Regions from separate parts of the Homo sapiens genome. Here region 2 is linked to region 1. Evidence: promoter capture Hi-C in 16 types of primary human blood cells and fetal thymus (Javierre and others, 2016). All regions are on one chromosome and are shown on one strand. The core of a region is centred on a gene start or on the middle of the fragment in contact, and the rest is flanking DNA. Distances in the headings are between cores, read along the strand shown. Region 1 holds the start of BCAP31 (B cell receptor associated protein 31). Region 2 overlaps DKC1 (dyskerin pseudouridine synthase 1).

Region 1 (6,985 bases), core at 4,486-6,985:
AGAATAATTACCCATTATTTTTGTAATCAGAAAAACAAGATAAACATGTTTCCTTACACTGTCACCTGCATCCAGGAACCCCACCATCCTAAGGACCACCTTGGCCAATGACCAATAGTGGGGATGGGGGACTGAGCAATACTAACCCAAGTCCCACAGTAGAAACCAGCCCTCCCTGTCTCGGGCCTCAGCCCAGGTGGGAAGATCCTGCACCCTCAGCAACTCCATCCTCCAGGAGGATCTGCTCAACCCTCCCCACCCCCAAGCAAGGCCACAGCTCTAGCTAGTTATGCCCCTTACCCTTCACTAGTACCTGTGACTAACACTTCTGTTTGAAGAAGGCTCTGCAGATCTTTCTAGATTATGCTTCTTAACATGGGAGTAGGAAGCAGCCAGTCATCATGGCCATATGTCCCCCTAGAACTTCCAAGCAGTTCCCCGATCCCAAAAAAGAATGAAGGCTTTGTCAACTACTGGATTCCGCAAAGGATCTCTCCAGCCCACTCAGCTGCTCTAGGAAAGAAACATACTCCTTCTGGTTTGGGGAAGGGGCAAGACCCTGAGGGAATCATCCTCAGCATGGTCCCTCCCCTCCCCAGTTATTACCCCCACCCCAGACCCAAAAGCCAAAACACACATGCTCAGTTCAAAAACTCAGTGGCCTGGGGATGACACATATATTACCTACCTACTCCTGGCTTGGAGGCTGCTCAGGGCGAGAACCCTGGTTAGAAAGAGCTACTACCTCTTGGGGCCTTGCCAAGTATTTCAAGAACACTGAGGTGCTCAGGCAGCTGGCACCTACCCTATGTGGTTGGAAGCTGTCAGGTAACACTTGGCCTGTTCAGAGGCAGTCCAGCCTGAACATATCCTATCAGGCTCTGAGACATCAGGAAGGAGAAATGCCTAATGCTGAAGCTGGTGGGTGAGGCTTTGCACATTCCCCTGAACCACAGCCCCCCACCCGCTCAGTGTTTCTGCTGGGACTCGGTGGGAGGAGTGTTCCACGCCTAGGCAGGCACCACAGCTCTGAGACAAGAGTGGTGTCCACAGCAGAGCCAAGCCAATACTTTGGAGCCCAAACAGGGGGACATATCGATCACTTACCACAGCAAAACAACAAACATCTACCAGTCAGACAAGAGCTTTATTGATTCTTGTCTCCAGATGGTCACCCTACCACCTCATTGCAAAATGTCTGCCTTTCATCTTACCACCACCTGGCCTGGCCTTATCCCAGAGCCTGCTTGCCCTTGGACCAGTTTATCTTTCAAGCACCTGCTAGTGTACACCTCAATGTCAGAGTTTACAGAACTACAGAGCTGGAACGACCTGGGAAAACCTCAAGTCTAGCCCAGATGCAGAGAGGTCTAGGATCTCTCCCCAAGATATGCTGCCACACATCTCTGTGTTCTCCTCCTACTACTACAGGGAATGGCAGGACTTCACTGTGTGCTTGGTTGCTCAGTCCCCCATTAGAGGCCCTGCTCCAGGCAATTCTGCTGTTTAAGTGACTGGTGAGCAGCACTACTCAGACCAAGGTCACAGGCCAGTTAGCTTCTCTTGGCTTCAGTTCTAGAGTGACCTGAGGAGCAGCCTCAGAAACCTTAGGCGTCCCTCCTTCCAAGGTCTTGAAAAAAAGCAATGTAAGGTGGCCGTCATAAGCTGCATACAAACTGCTTGGTATAAGCCCACGCCCACTGCTAGAGGGGCCTCTTTTTTTTTTTTTTGAGATGGAGTCTCCCTCTTGTTGCCCAGGCTGGAGTGCAATGGTGCGATTTAGGCTCACTGCAACCTCTGCCTCGTGGGTTCAAGCAATTCTCCTGCCTCAGTCTCCCAAGTAGCTGGGATTACAGGTGCCCGCCACCACGCCCAGCTAATTTTGTATTTTTCGTAGAGATGGGGTTTCACCACGTTGGCCAGGCTGATCTCGAACTCCTCATCTCAGGTGATCCACCGACCTCAGCCTCCCAAAGTGCTGGGATTACAGGCATGAGCCACCATGTACGGCCTAGAGGGGCCTCAAAGTGAAGAACCGACTAGCGGTCAGCAGCATGGGCAAAGGGAGCCTCTTCCCTCCCTCAAGAGAAAGACACAGCATTTCATTGGTCTGTCTCCTAGCAGCCAAAACTGGATGCTACACATCAAAAGTGGCAAAGGGTTTTGCAGCAGAGACCAGGGTCTAGGTCAGGTAGCTGCCCTCAGCCATAGCTCACTCACCGATGACCAACAGCACAAGGATGACAATGAGAACCACAAAGAAGGTGTTGCCATAGGACACTAACAACTCCACCAGCCGGGACTTGAAAATCTTCTGCCATCTGTGAAGAAGACAAAAAGGACAGGAGTTGAAGAGAAAGCACACACACGAGCTCTAGGGCCCTGAGCAAAATGGAAATCCAGCTTTGTACTCTTCTCCAATGGCCGAATAGCCCATGCAAAGTCAGCCTCAGTGGCTTGCAATTCTCTAATTTGACATCCATTCAAGACTATTGGAAAAAAGGCCAGGTGCAATGGCTCACACCTGTAATCTCAGCACTTTGGGAGACCAAGGTGGGTGGATCACTTGAGGTCAGGAGTGCAAGACCAAACTGGCCAACATGGCGAAACCCTGTCTCTACTAAAAGTACGAAAATTAGCCAGGCGTGGTGGTGGGCACCTGTAATCCCAGCTACTCAGGAGGGTGAGGCAGGAGAATCACTTGAACCTGGGAGGCGGAAGTTGCAGTGAGCCGAGATCGCGCCACTGCACTCCAGCCTGGGTGACAGAGCGAGACCTTGTCTCAAAAAAAAAAAAAAAAAAAGATGCTGGTCCACGTATAGATCAAAATGTCTGGAAAACTAATCTTTTTTTTTTTTTTTTGAGACAGAGTCTTGCTCTGTTGCCCAGGCTGGAGTGCAGAGGTGTAAGCCACCGCGCCCAGCCTGGAAAACTAATCTTAAACGTGGGCAGTTGGCTGGGCGCACTGGCTCACGTCTGTAAACCCAGCACTTTGGGAGGCTGAGATGGGCAGATCACCTGAGGTCAGAAGTTCAAGACCGGCCTGGCCAACATGGTGAACTCCCATCTCTACTAAAAATATATATATAAAAAAAAATTAGCTGGGCATGTTGGCAGGCACCTGTAGTCCCAGCTACTCGTGAGGCTGAGGCAGGAGAATTGCTTGAACCCGGGAGGTGGAGGCTGCTGTCAGCCGAGCACCACACCACTGCACTCCAGCCTGGGTGACAGAGCAAGACTCTGTCTCAAAATAAAAACAAAAACAAACAAAAAAACCACAACAACAAAAAGAAAACATACTGGTAGTCTCTGAAAAGGGAAACTTACTTTTCATTGTACTCCCCTTTGTAATATTCAAATGTTTGCCCCATACACGTTATTTCTTTAAACTGTCTTTCCACATGATAAACCTTGGTTTGTCTATATCCCCCGACCCTGTTATGATGAGATGGACCCCAGACCTCACATCATTTCCATCCACAAATGCTTTGGGATGCAGCTCTAAGAAGAGACTTCAGAAGTGTTTACATATTGTTCAAATCAACAAGAAGCCCTCATCATCAGGGCTAGAGTTGAATATGCCAATCACTGAAGGCAATGATATTTGTTTGAATCCGGACCCAACAAGGTACCGATTTGGCATTCGGTAGATAAACGTCTTAAATCCAGCTTATTCTGGAAGCTCCCCCTTCCCTCTCCCTCTTTCATTTGCTTTTCCAGTTTCCTTTGTGTAGAAATCAGATTGTCTGTCCTCTAAAGCTTCCCAGATTAAAGCTCCCCGGGGCCCTCTATCTCTGCACGTCTTGTCAACTGTACGAAGGTGTGGTTTTCTACAAGAATCCTCCTCAGACAGCACTGCATACTTTCTATGGTATCACATCAAAGATAATTTTTCACGAAAAAACGGCTTTTAAAAATACCTGTGGAGATTTGGCCTTATTTGTAATATCGTAATTTAAATAGGGATGTGTTCAGGTATTATACATAATTAAAATTAATCTCCAATTCACTTTTAACAGGTCCTCTGTTCATTAAAAGGGAATATGGCTTCATCCTCCACAGGCTGAGTAATGTTCATGCAGCCACTGCGCAATACCAGTGAGACTAGTTAGGAGGACAAGAGTCACCAAATCAGCAACAACGTGACCCAGTGGTGCAAGTCTTCCGAATCCCACGCTACCATCCCAGCACCCCGTGGACCAAGAGTGGGTGGGAGGGCATCATTTCCAGAACTGTAACATAGATCTTCCTGCCTCTCGGGGGCATTCTGAAGACCAGAAGGCAGGGGACACAGGAAAAGGAACTGAGCAAGTCATGACGAAGCAGAACCCTGGGAAGGGTTGGCAATAACAAACACAACCCCTGCCACCCCCACCCCAGACAGGTTCTACCTGTTCCATCGGGTCCCAATTCCAGGGTCCACCAGCTGCACACACCAGTCCCAGGGCTAGGGCACAGGCACCCTCCTGCCTAACTCGCCTGCTTGCTCCATAGGCCATACCTTTTAGGAGAAATGAAGGGAATGCAGAGAAGCAACACAACAAAGACCTCCGCATAGAGGAAGGTGGCAACTGCAGTCCACTGCAGACTCATCCTGTTGCTAGAAGGTTTCCCACAGGAAGATGTGAGCTTGTTTCCTGGCAGGGCACAAAAGGTACGGGACTTGTAAGCGCTGGGCAGCCAAGAACATCCAGTTCAGTTACCCTGCGAGGCTGGGGCCGCCACTCTCCACCCTGACCCCCTGCACTTTGCTTCAAAGTCTCTGATGCGCTGGCGGAAGCAGGGCTCCACTCGGCAGGGCCTCTTGGCCAGCAGCGTTCACAGGCCCCACAAACTTCCGTTCGCTGGTCAATTACCTGCCCCCTCCAGCACGTGTGTCAACACGTCCAGAGCGGCCTCTCCCGACGATCCCTGCCCCAGGAAGCCCGAGATTTCCGACGCCCGTTTAACTGAAAGGCGTTCTTCGGGAAGAGCAGTGCCAGGGCACCAAGAGGAGGACGCCTCGGCACCCATCGGGCGCTCCCTTCCCCGCCAGGCAGAACTCAGCCGCAGAGGCGGGCGCTCTGCGGGCCCAAATCCCCGCTACCAGGCAGGCCCAAGGCCGCACCTAGTCCAAGCGCTGCCGACGCCCCCGCCTCCCACCGTCCCCACGGCGCCCGCGGAGAGAAACCGGCACCTCCCTCGAGGATCCAGCGGCCTTCCGCCCGGGGCCGCTTCGCCTCCGGTGGGCTGGAGGCCCGCAAGAGCGACTCCTAGAGGGCAGGATTCGGGACCAAGCGCAAAGGCAGGTCTCGACCAAGCACCTCAAGGCCCCATACGGAGAAAGTTCTAGACGCAGTATCCTCAGAAGCCAGGGGTCCTTACAGTAGCCCTCGCGGGCCCCAGCGCCCACCCAGAGCGAGGGGCCTCCGACTTGGCCCCGGCCTGGCACACCGTCCCGGAGGCCCATCCCGGCCGCTCCTCCAGGTGGGGCTTCACCGCCCCCCGCCCCGCCCCCGAGACCAGCTTCTAGAGGCGCCGCCCGGTTTCCCCTCGCCCCTGCCTCTCACACGCAGGTAGGCTGCGGGCCCCGAGATTCCCCGGCCCCCGGGCCTCCCCGCGCCGCTCGCCTCTCTCCCTCGTCGATGGGCCGGGGAGCCTCCGCGGTCCCGGAGCCCAGCCCGGCGCGCGGAGCCCGCTCACCGAGTTTCCCACAGTCAACGTGCAGGCCCCGCCGCAGCAACAGAACTCTCCCACAGCAGCCCCGGCCCCGCCCCTCATACCGCGGCCGGAAACCGGAAGCGCCCGCCGGGCACCGCCCACCAGCCCTCGCGAGGCCCCGGAGGCTCCGCCCACCTCCGCTTCCCACCCCGCCCCGGAGCGGAGGGCCGGCGCTCCGAGCGGGAGAGGAAGAGGCGCCTCGGGCTCCGGGCGAGCAGGGCGGGGTGGAGCGAGCACGCGGGCGGGGCGGGGCGGGGCTTTGTCGGGCCGGCGAGGGCCGCTTCTCTAGTCCGCGCGGCCGTCCCACGTCTCTGTGGTGCGGGAGGGGCCCCGCCGAGGGGCGAGAACGGGAGGTGGGGGTGTGGGCGGGCCCCGCCGAGGGGCGAGAACAGGGTGGGGCTCCCGCGCCCGGACTCCGCCCCTCGCCCCTCCTCCGCCTCCTCCCCTTCCCCCGACTCGCCCCTGGGGAAGAGTGGGTGGGGATTCTGGGCCGGTGGAGGAGTCACTGTCGCTTCAGCCAGGCTGCGGAGCGGACGGACGCGCCTGGTGCCCCGGGGAGGGGCGCCACCGGGGGAGGAGGAGGAGGAGAAGGTGGAGAGGAAGAGACGCCCCCTCTGCCCGAGACCTCTCAAGGCCCTGACCTCAGGGGCCAGGGCACTGACAGGACAGGAGAGCCAAGTTCCTCCACTTGGGCTGCCCGAAGAGGCCGCGACCCTGGAGGGCCCTGAGCCCACCGCACCAGGGGCCCCAGCACCACCCCGGGGGCCTAAAGCGACAGTCTCAGGGGCCATCGCAAGGTTTCCAGTTGCCTAGACAACAGGCCCAGGGTCAGAGCAACAATCCTTCCAGCCACCTGCCTCAACTGCTGCCCCAGGCACCAGCCCCAGTCCCTACGCGGCAGCCAGCCCAGGTGACATGCCGGTGCTCTCCAGGCCCCGGCCCTGGCGGGGGAACACGCTGAAGCGCACGGCCGTGCTCCTGGCCCTCGCGGCCTATGGAGCCCACAAAGTCTACCCCTTGGTGCGCCAGTGCCTGGCCCCGGCCAGGGGTCTTCAGGCGCCCGCCGGGGAGCCCACGCAGGAGGCCTCCGGGGTCGCGGCGGCCAAAGCTGGCATGAACCGGGTATTCCTGCAGCGGCTCCTGTGGCTCCTGCGGCTGCTGTTCCCCCGGGTCCTGTGCCGGGAGACGGGGCTGCTGGCCCTGCACTCGGCCGCCTTGGTGAGCCGCACCTTCCTGTCGGTGTATGTGGCCCGCCTGGACGGAAGGCTGGCCCGCTGCATCGTCC
Region 2 (6,728 bases), core at 2,893-5,392, 1.0 Mb after region 1:
TTTATTGTTTTCCTTGGGTTTTATTTTATTTTTTTCAAGTCCAAACCAAGTATATTAATTTAAAGTAAAAGTTTAATGGTAGGCATACTTAAAAATAAGGCACATTAGGCCAGGCACAGTGGCTGATGCCTATAATCCTAGCACTTTGGCAGGCTGAGGCAAGAGGATCACTTGAGTCCAGGAAGGAGTTTGAGACCAGCTTGAGCCCAGGAGATCAAGGCTGTGAGCTGTGTTTTTATGATGATCAGAGAGTTGGCCTTTTATAAATTAAAACATTGTCTTTTTCTCTAACTTGAGGGATAAAAATTTCTGGATATTTAAAATGTTTGTAGTTGGTAATTATTTATATTCAAATCTTGTATAGATGTTCACATTTTTTGTATGTGTATAGGCTGTAATAAATACTGAAAGATGGCACCATAATAGTTGAAAAAACTCAGTCACAAAACAGTGGACAACATAAATGTGATGTCCTCTCCTTATCAAACCATTGGCTTCTGGGTGAATGTAAAGGGAGGGGAGAATGTGATCAAAAGAGGTCTAGGTGAGTGGAGATGGTATGAGGCAGATGGGTGCATTGGGTACCATTGAACCTCTGGAGAGGTAGCCTTAACTTGTACCCACTGACCTATAAATTCTGCACCAAGACTTTTGTGTGATTGGTTCAACAGGGCTCAGTAATCTTGTTTTCAAGTTCTTTAAGAGCCTGTTATTGCCTGGATCTCCAGTAAATCTGTTCTTTCTCCTCATAAGGAGGAGAGAGGAGTAATTAAGGAATGCCAAGGCTATTTTTATGTTTCAAATGAAAATATGGACCACGTGCGGTGGCTCACACCCATAATCCCAGCACTTTGGGAGGCCGGGCCAGGCAAATTGCTTGAGCTCAGGAGTTTGAGACCAGCCTGGGCAATATGGTGAAACCCTGTCTCTATTAAAAATACAAAAATTAGCTGGGCGTGGTGGCACGTGCCTGTAATCCCAGCTCCTTGGGAGGCTGAGAATCACTTGAACTTGGGAGATGGAGGTTGCAGTGAGCCGAGAATGTGCCACTGCACTCCACCCTGGACAACAGAGGGAGGTTCTGCCTGAAAATTAAAAAAAAAAAAAAAAAAAAAAGAAAATACTTGTGAGTCTCTAGAACCTGAAAACCTGAAAGTCTTCTTTACTACTTTTGAGTCGTGTGTAATGTGCGGAGAGTGGTACCTATAGCACAGTGAGGTGGCTCTTCTGAGTACCACTCATGCCCCTTGCAGCTAGTGGGCTATAAGTGTCATCCCTGTTTCCTGGTGTCAGGCCCCACTCCCTTGTTGTCCTCCTTTACTCTGGTGTGGGAGTGGGGTGGAGGGCAGCAGCTGGGCCCCTTACACTTGGTGCCATCTCTGCAGGTAAATGCCATCTGCTATGGGGCCAAGATTATGCTTCCAGGTGTTCTTCGATATGAGGACGGCATTGAGGTCAATCAGGAGATTGTGGTTATCACCACCAAAGGAGAAGCAATCTGCATGGGTAAGAGGGGATGTTTATTTTTTAAATTCTAAATGTTTGTGGTTACATACTAGGTGTATATATTTATGGGGTTCATGAGATGTTTTGATACAGGCATGCAATACATAATAATCACATCATGGAGAATGGGGCATCCATCTTAAGCATTTATCCTTTGTGTTACAAACAATCCTATTTTACTGTTAGTTATTTATCACCTTAGTTATTTTAAAATATACACTTAAGTTATTATTGATTATAGTCACCCCGTTGTGCTATTAAATAGTCTCACTCTTCTTGTTCATTCTTTTGGTTTTTTGGTGGTGGTGTTTTTTTTTTTTTTTTTTTTTTGAGACAGTCTTGCTCTTTTCACCCAGACTGCAGTGCAGAGACGTGACCTCGGCTCACTGCAACTTCTGCTTCCCAGGTTCAAGCGATTCTCGTGCCTCAGCCTTCCGAGTAGCTAGGATTACAGGTGCACACCATGACACCTGGCTAATTTTTTGTATTTTTAGTAGAGACAGGGTTTTGTCATGTTGGTCAGGCTGGTCTCGAACTTCTGACCTCAGGTGATCTGCCCTCCCAAAGTGCTGGGATTACAGGTGTGAGCCACCATGCCGGGCCTGATTTTTTTTTTTTTTGTACCCATTAACCATCCCTACCTCCCTGCCAGCCCCCCACTACCCTCCCAGTCTCTGGTAACCATTCTTTTACTCTTCTCTGTCCATGAGTTCAATTGTTTCGATTCTTAGCTCCCACAAATAAGTGAGAACATGCAATGTTTGTCTTTCTGTGACTGGCCGATTACACTTAATATAACGATCTTCAGTTCCATCCATGTTGTTGGAAATGACAGGATCTCATTCTTTTTTAAGGCTGAATAGTAATCCATCGTGTATATGTACCACATTTTCTTTATCCATTTATCTGTCGATGGGCACTTCGGTTGCTTCCAAATCTTGGCTACTGTGATCTCTTTGATAACACTGATTTCCTTTATTTGGGGTATATACCCAGCAGTGGGATTGCTGGATCCTATGGTAGCTCAATTTAGTTTTTCGAGGAACCTCCAAACTGTTCTTCATAGTGGTTATACTAATTTACATTCCCATCAACAGTGTACAAAGGTTCCCTTTTCTCCACATCCTTGCCAGCACTTGTCATTGCCTGTCTTTTGGATATAAACCATTTTAACTGGAGTGAAATGATATTTCATTGTAGTTTTGATTTGCATTTCTCTCGTGATCAGCATTGAGCACTTTTTCATATGCCTGTTTGCCATTTATTTGTCTTCTTTTGAGAAGTGTCTGTTCAAATCTTTTGCCTGTTTTTTGATCAGATTATTAGATTTTTTTTCCTATAGTGCTGAGTTCCTTATATATTCTGGTTATTAATCCCTTGTCAGATGGGTAGTTTGCGGATATTTTCTCCCATTCTTATGCATATGGATATCTAGTTTTCCCAGCACCATTTATTGAAGAGACTGGTTTTTACCCAGTGTATGTTCTTGGCACCTTTGTCAAAAATGAGTTAAATGTAGGTGTGTGCATTTGTTTCTGGGTTCCTTATTCTGTTCCATTGGTTTATGTGCCTGTTTTTATGCCAGTACCATACTGTTTTGGTTACTGTAGCTCTATACTATAATTTGAAGTCAGGTAATGTGATTCCTCCAGGTTTGTTCTTTTTGCTTAGGATAGCTTTGGCTATTTTGAGTCTTTTGTGGTTCCATGTAAAGTACCAGTGTTTTTTAACTTGTGAAAGCTTAGCTACTGTTGGATTGTCTCTTAAGACTTTAAATGCTCTGCGCACCCTCTTAGTGAATGAACCTTAGAGCTATTCATTTAATGGGTCTAATTTGTACCAGAAGTAAGCATGTCATCAGGATTCCTTAGCTCTGTGAGCAGGCAAGGCAGCCACGGCTTATGGACAGCAGCAGAAAAGGAATCCTTAAAACTTCAAAGGTTCTGTGGCCCCAAAGGGAGTGTGCATGCCGTTCTTATAGACGTCTTGAGCTGCAAGCCTGTTATGTGTATCGTTAGGTGCTTTGGTTAGGTGTTTTTTAACTTCAGAAGTTTAACGTCATTTCAAAGGCCTCCTTCTCATAATGGAGTATTTCCTCCATATGCACATCCTGAGCAAAGGTAACCCCAATTAAAGTAGTAGCTCAGAGTTTTAAAAGTTTTAAAGTGGCATACAACAGTAGAATTGGGGCTCATCAATTATCAATTCTTTCACCCTTCAAATAATTCTTTTCTTTATTCAATGCCTGTAGCTATTGCATTAATGACCACAGCGGTCATCTCTACCTGCGACCATGGTATAGTAGCCAAGATCAAGAGAGTGATCATGGAGAGAGACACTTACCCTCGGAAGTGGGGTTTAGGTCCAAAGGTAAGTGGTACTGGGTTGCGTGCCCTGCCAGGTTCTTTTTTTTTTTTTTTTTTTTTTAAATTTATTTTTTTATTGATAATTCTTGGGTGTTTCTCACAGAGGGGGATTTGGCAGGGTCATGGGACAATAGTGGAGGGAAGGTCAGCAGATAAACAAGTGAACAAAGGTCTCTGGTTTTCCTAGGCAGAGGACCCTGCGGCCTTCCGCAGTGTCTGTGTCCCTGATTACTTGAGATTAGGGAGTGGTGATGACTCTTAAGGAGCATGCTGCCTTCAAGCATCTGTTTAACAAAGCACATCTTGCACCGCCCTTAATCCATTTAACCCTGAGTGGACACAGCACATGTTTCAGAGAGCACAGGGTTGGGGGTAAGGTCACAGATCAACAGGATCCCAAGGCAGAAGAGTTTTTCTTAGTGCAGAACAAAATGAAAAGTCTCCCATGTCTACTTCTCTCCACACAGACACGGCAACCATCCGATTTCTCAATCTTTTCCCCACCTTTCCCGCCTTTCTATTCCACAAAACCGCCATTGCCATCCTGGCCCGTTCTCAATGAGCTGTTGGGCACACCTCCCAGACGGGGTGGCGGCCGGGCAGAGGGGCTCCTCACTTCCCAGTAGGGGCGGCCGGGCAGAGGCGCCCCTCACCTCCCGGACGGGGCGGCTGGCCGGGCGGGGGGGCTGACCCCCCCCCACCTCCCTCCCGGATGGGGCGGCTCCTGCCAGGTTCTTTTGTTTGGCATTGTTGAATACTTGGGCAGCTCTTGGTGTGTTTCACCACCACAGCCTTGTATTGTGCTGGGCTCTGGGTTGTCGATGAGTGGAAACAGGCCCTGTCTTGGGCCTTAGAGATTTCAGTCTAATGAGGGGAAACAGTTGGGCATTACTCACGTAATCACACAGTGGAATGGCGAATTTCATGCACGTTAGTGGCTACCAAGGAGTGCAGAGAGGTGTCTGTCACCTGGAGTGTCCACAGTGGTCAAGGAGTCTGGTCAAGGGATTGTCTGTTAAGCCACACCGGTGTGAAGAGTGGGTTAGGTGTTGGTGAAGTGAAGAGGGGAGGGGAGAGTTCAGGGCATTGGGAGCAAGCAGCATGTGCAAAGGCAAAAAAGTAGAGTGGCTGCGGTGGGGACGTTATGTCTGCAGAGGCTCTCACTAATAAGCTTTGTGATCTTCAACAAGTCCTGTGTGTGTTGGAGTTAGTGGGCAAATTCTGAATGCTCTGGAGAGGAGTTTGAGGCCCTGCTGAGAATACACCAGGGAGGAACCTTGTTCTATTCTTTGTAGTCACCATGCCCGCTTCCAGCATTGACACCATTCTAATGTTGACACCTTGATGTTCCACCAGGCAAGTCAGAAGAAGCTGATGATCAAGCAGGGCCTTCTGGACAAGCATGGGAAGCCCACAGACAGCACACCTGCCACCTGGAAGCAGGAGTATGTTGACTACAGGTGAGGGCAGGATGTTTCAGAGCCGGGGTGGGTAGAGACGGCACACTTGCTGCCTTGATGCAGGAGTATGTCAACAACAGGTGAGGATGGGAAGGTAGAGCCCACTTGCCATCTGGACGCAGGAGTACATGGACAACAGGTGAGGAACAGGTGAGCATGGAGGTTGTAGAGCCCAGGGGAGGGGGAGTCACTTGGTTTGGGGCAAACTTGCTAAATGCAGGACCACAGGAACCAGCTCTTCAGCTCCCGTGAGATTTTGGCTGCCCAGGCCAGTTAGGGGTGTGGGCCTGCACGGCAGACAGTTATCCCTTTCTAGTCTGGCTCGTGGGACTCTAGAGGGAGTCAGTCTGCAACAGTAAGTGGTGAGTTCTTCTGTCCAGCGTCAGTATTTTGATGGTGGCTTTAGACTTGCCAGATAACACTACATAACATCAGTACTGCCCTGGAAAGCCATTCAGTGAATTTGACCTATTGCTACCTCTTTTTCAGTGAGTCTGCCAAAAAAGAGGTGGTTGCTGAAGTGGTAAAAGCCCCGCAGGTAGTTGCCGAAGCAGCAAAAACTGCGAAGGTGAGTGGCATGCTGTCCTCAGTTTGGAATGTGCTTAGGGAGATAATCCTAAGAGGCACTGGCATTCGTCTTACTTTGTGACTGTCCGCAGTCCAGCCATATACGCTAGCATCAGAGGTGCAGCGCATACACAGGTAATGCTGCCTCATACCCTGGGGTGCTTGTTTGGGCTCTGCAGGCTCCTCTGATTTGTATTCTCTGTCCTATCTGCTGGGAGGAGGAATGTGGGCTCAGGAATCAGATGGGCCTCGACTCCTACCTCAGCTATGGCAGCAACACAGTGATGGAATGGGTGGTGGTGTGTGTGTCAATTCTGGCCCCCGCCCTGGGTCAAATGGTAGGACAGATGTGTTGAAATCAGAGGCCATGGCTGTTGGACATTCGAGGCCATACAAAATTCAGCAGAGAGCAGAATTGCATCTTAACCTGGCACCACCCAGTGTTGAAAGAGTCAGTCAAGCATGGGTTGGCAACTCCACCCCATGGAGCTGCTGGCATTAGAGCACAGAATGACAGGTCTGCACTCAGAAACCGGGGGCGGTACTGAGTATCCTGCACAGGCTGTGTGGGAGGAGCTTCTGACTTGTCAGATGTGAATTCCTGCTTTGCCTGCTTTCTGTGAGAGGTCCTTGCAGTCATGAGAGAAACAGCTCCTCCGGGCCTTTCCACCCCAAGCCCCGTGCTGCTGCTGTGCTCCTTCTCTTGTGCCTGCCTCAAGGCTTCTTGGATTTGGGGGATGAGACTGTCTTCAAATCCTCAGTAAACTAAGGCCCTGTCCGGGTTTGTAGTCAGAAAACGTCCTGTTAGATTCAGTTGGGATCTTTCTTG

What was found. Contacts are between HindIII fragments. The CHiCAGO score rates a contact against its expected background, and 5 or more counts as called.
Region 2: a contact is called between a fragment that was not itself captured here and the fragment with the promoter of BCAP31 in region 1, in 1 of 17 cell types (monocytes). The highest score is 6.1, in monocytes.

Annotation. Positions count from the first base shown.
Region 1 is chrX:153,718,652-153,725,636 of GRCh38, forward strand. It overlaps BCAP31 (B cell receptor associated protein 31), which reads right to left and starts at 5,736. Exons shown (of 8, transcript NM_001256447.2): 1 at 5,683-5,736; 2 at 4,502-4,637; 3 at 2,221-2,321. The coding sequence starts at 4,593. ABCD1 (ATP binding cassette subfamily D member 1) reads left to right here and starts at 6,205. Exons shown (of 10, transcript NM_000033.4): 1 at 6,205-6,985. The coding sequence starts at 6,616. RefSeq lists silencers at 5,015-5,194, 5,405-6,364 and an enhancer at 6,825-6,985. The HindIII fragment of the contact is 9,880 bases long and covers 3,758-6,985 here.
Region 2 is chrX:154,769,374-154,776,101 of GRCh38, forward strand. It overlaps DKC1 (dyskerin pseudouridine synthase 1), which reads left to right. Exons shown (of 15, transcript NM_001363.5): 10 at 1,386-1,506; 11 at 3,758-3,876; 12 at 5,229-5,332; 13 at 5,822-5,900. It overlaps SNORA56 (small nucleolar RNA, H/ACA box 56), which reads left to right and starts at 5,625; the gene lies at 5,625-5,753. The HindIII fragment of the contact is 1,797 bases long and covers 3,245-5,041 here.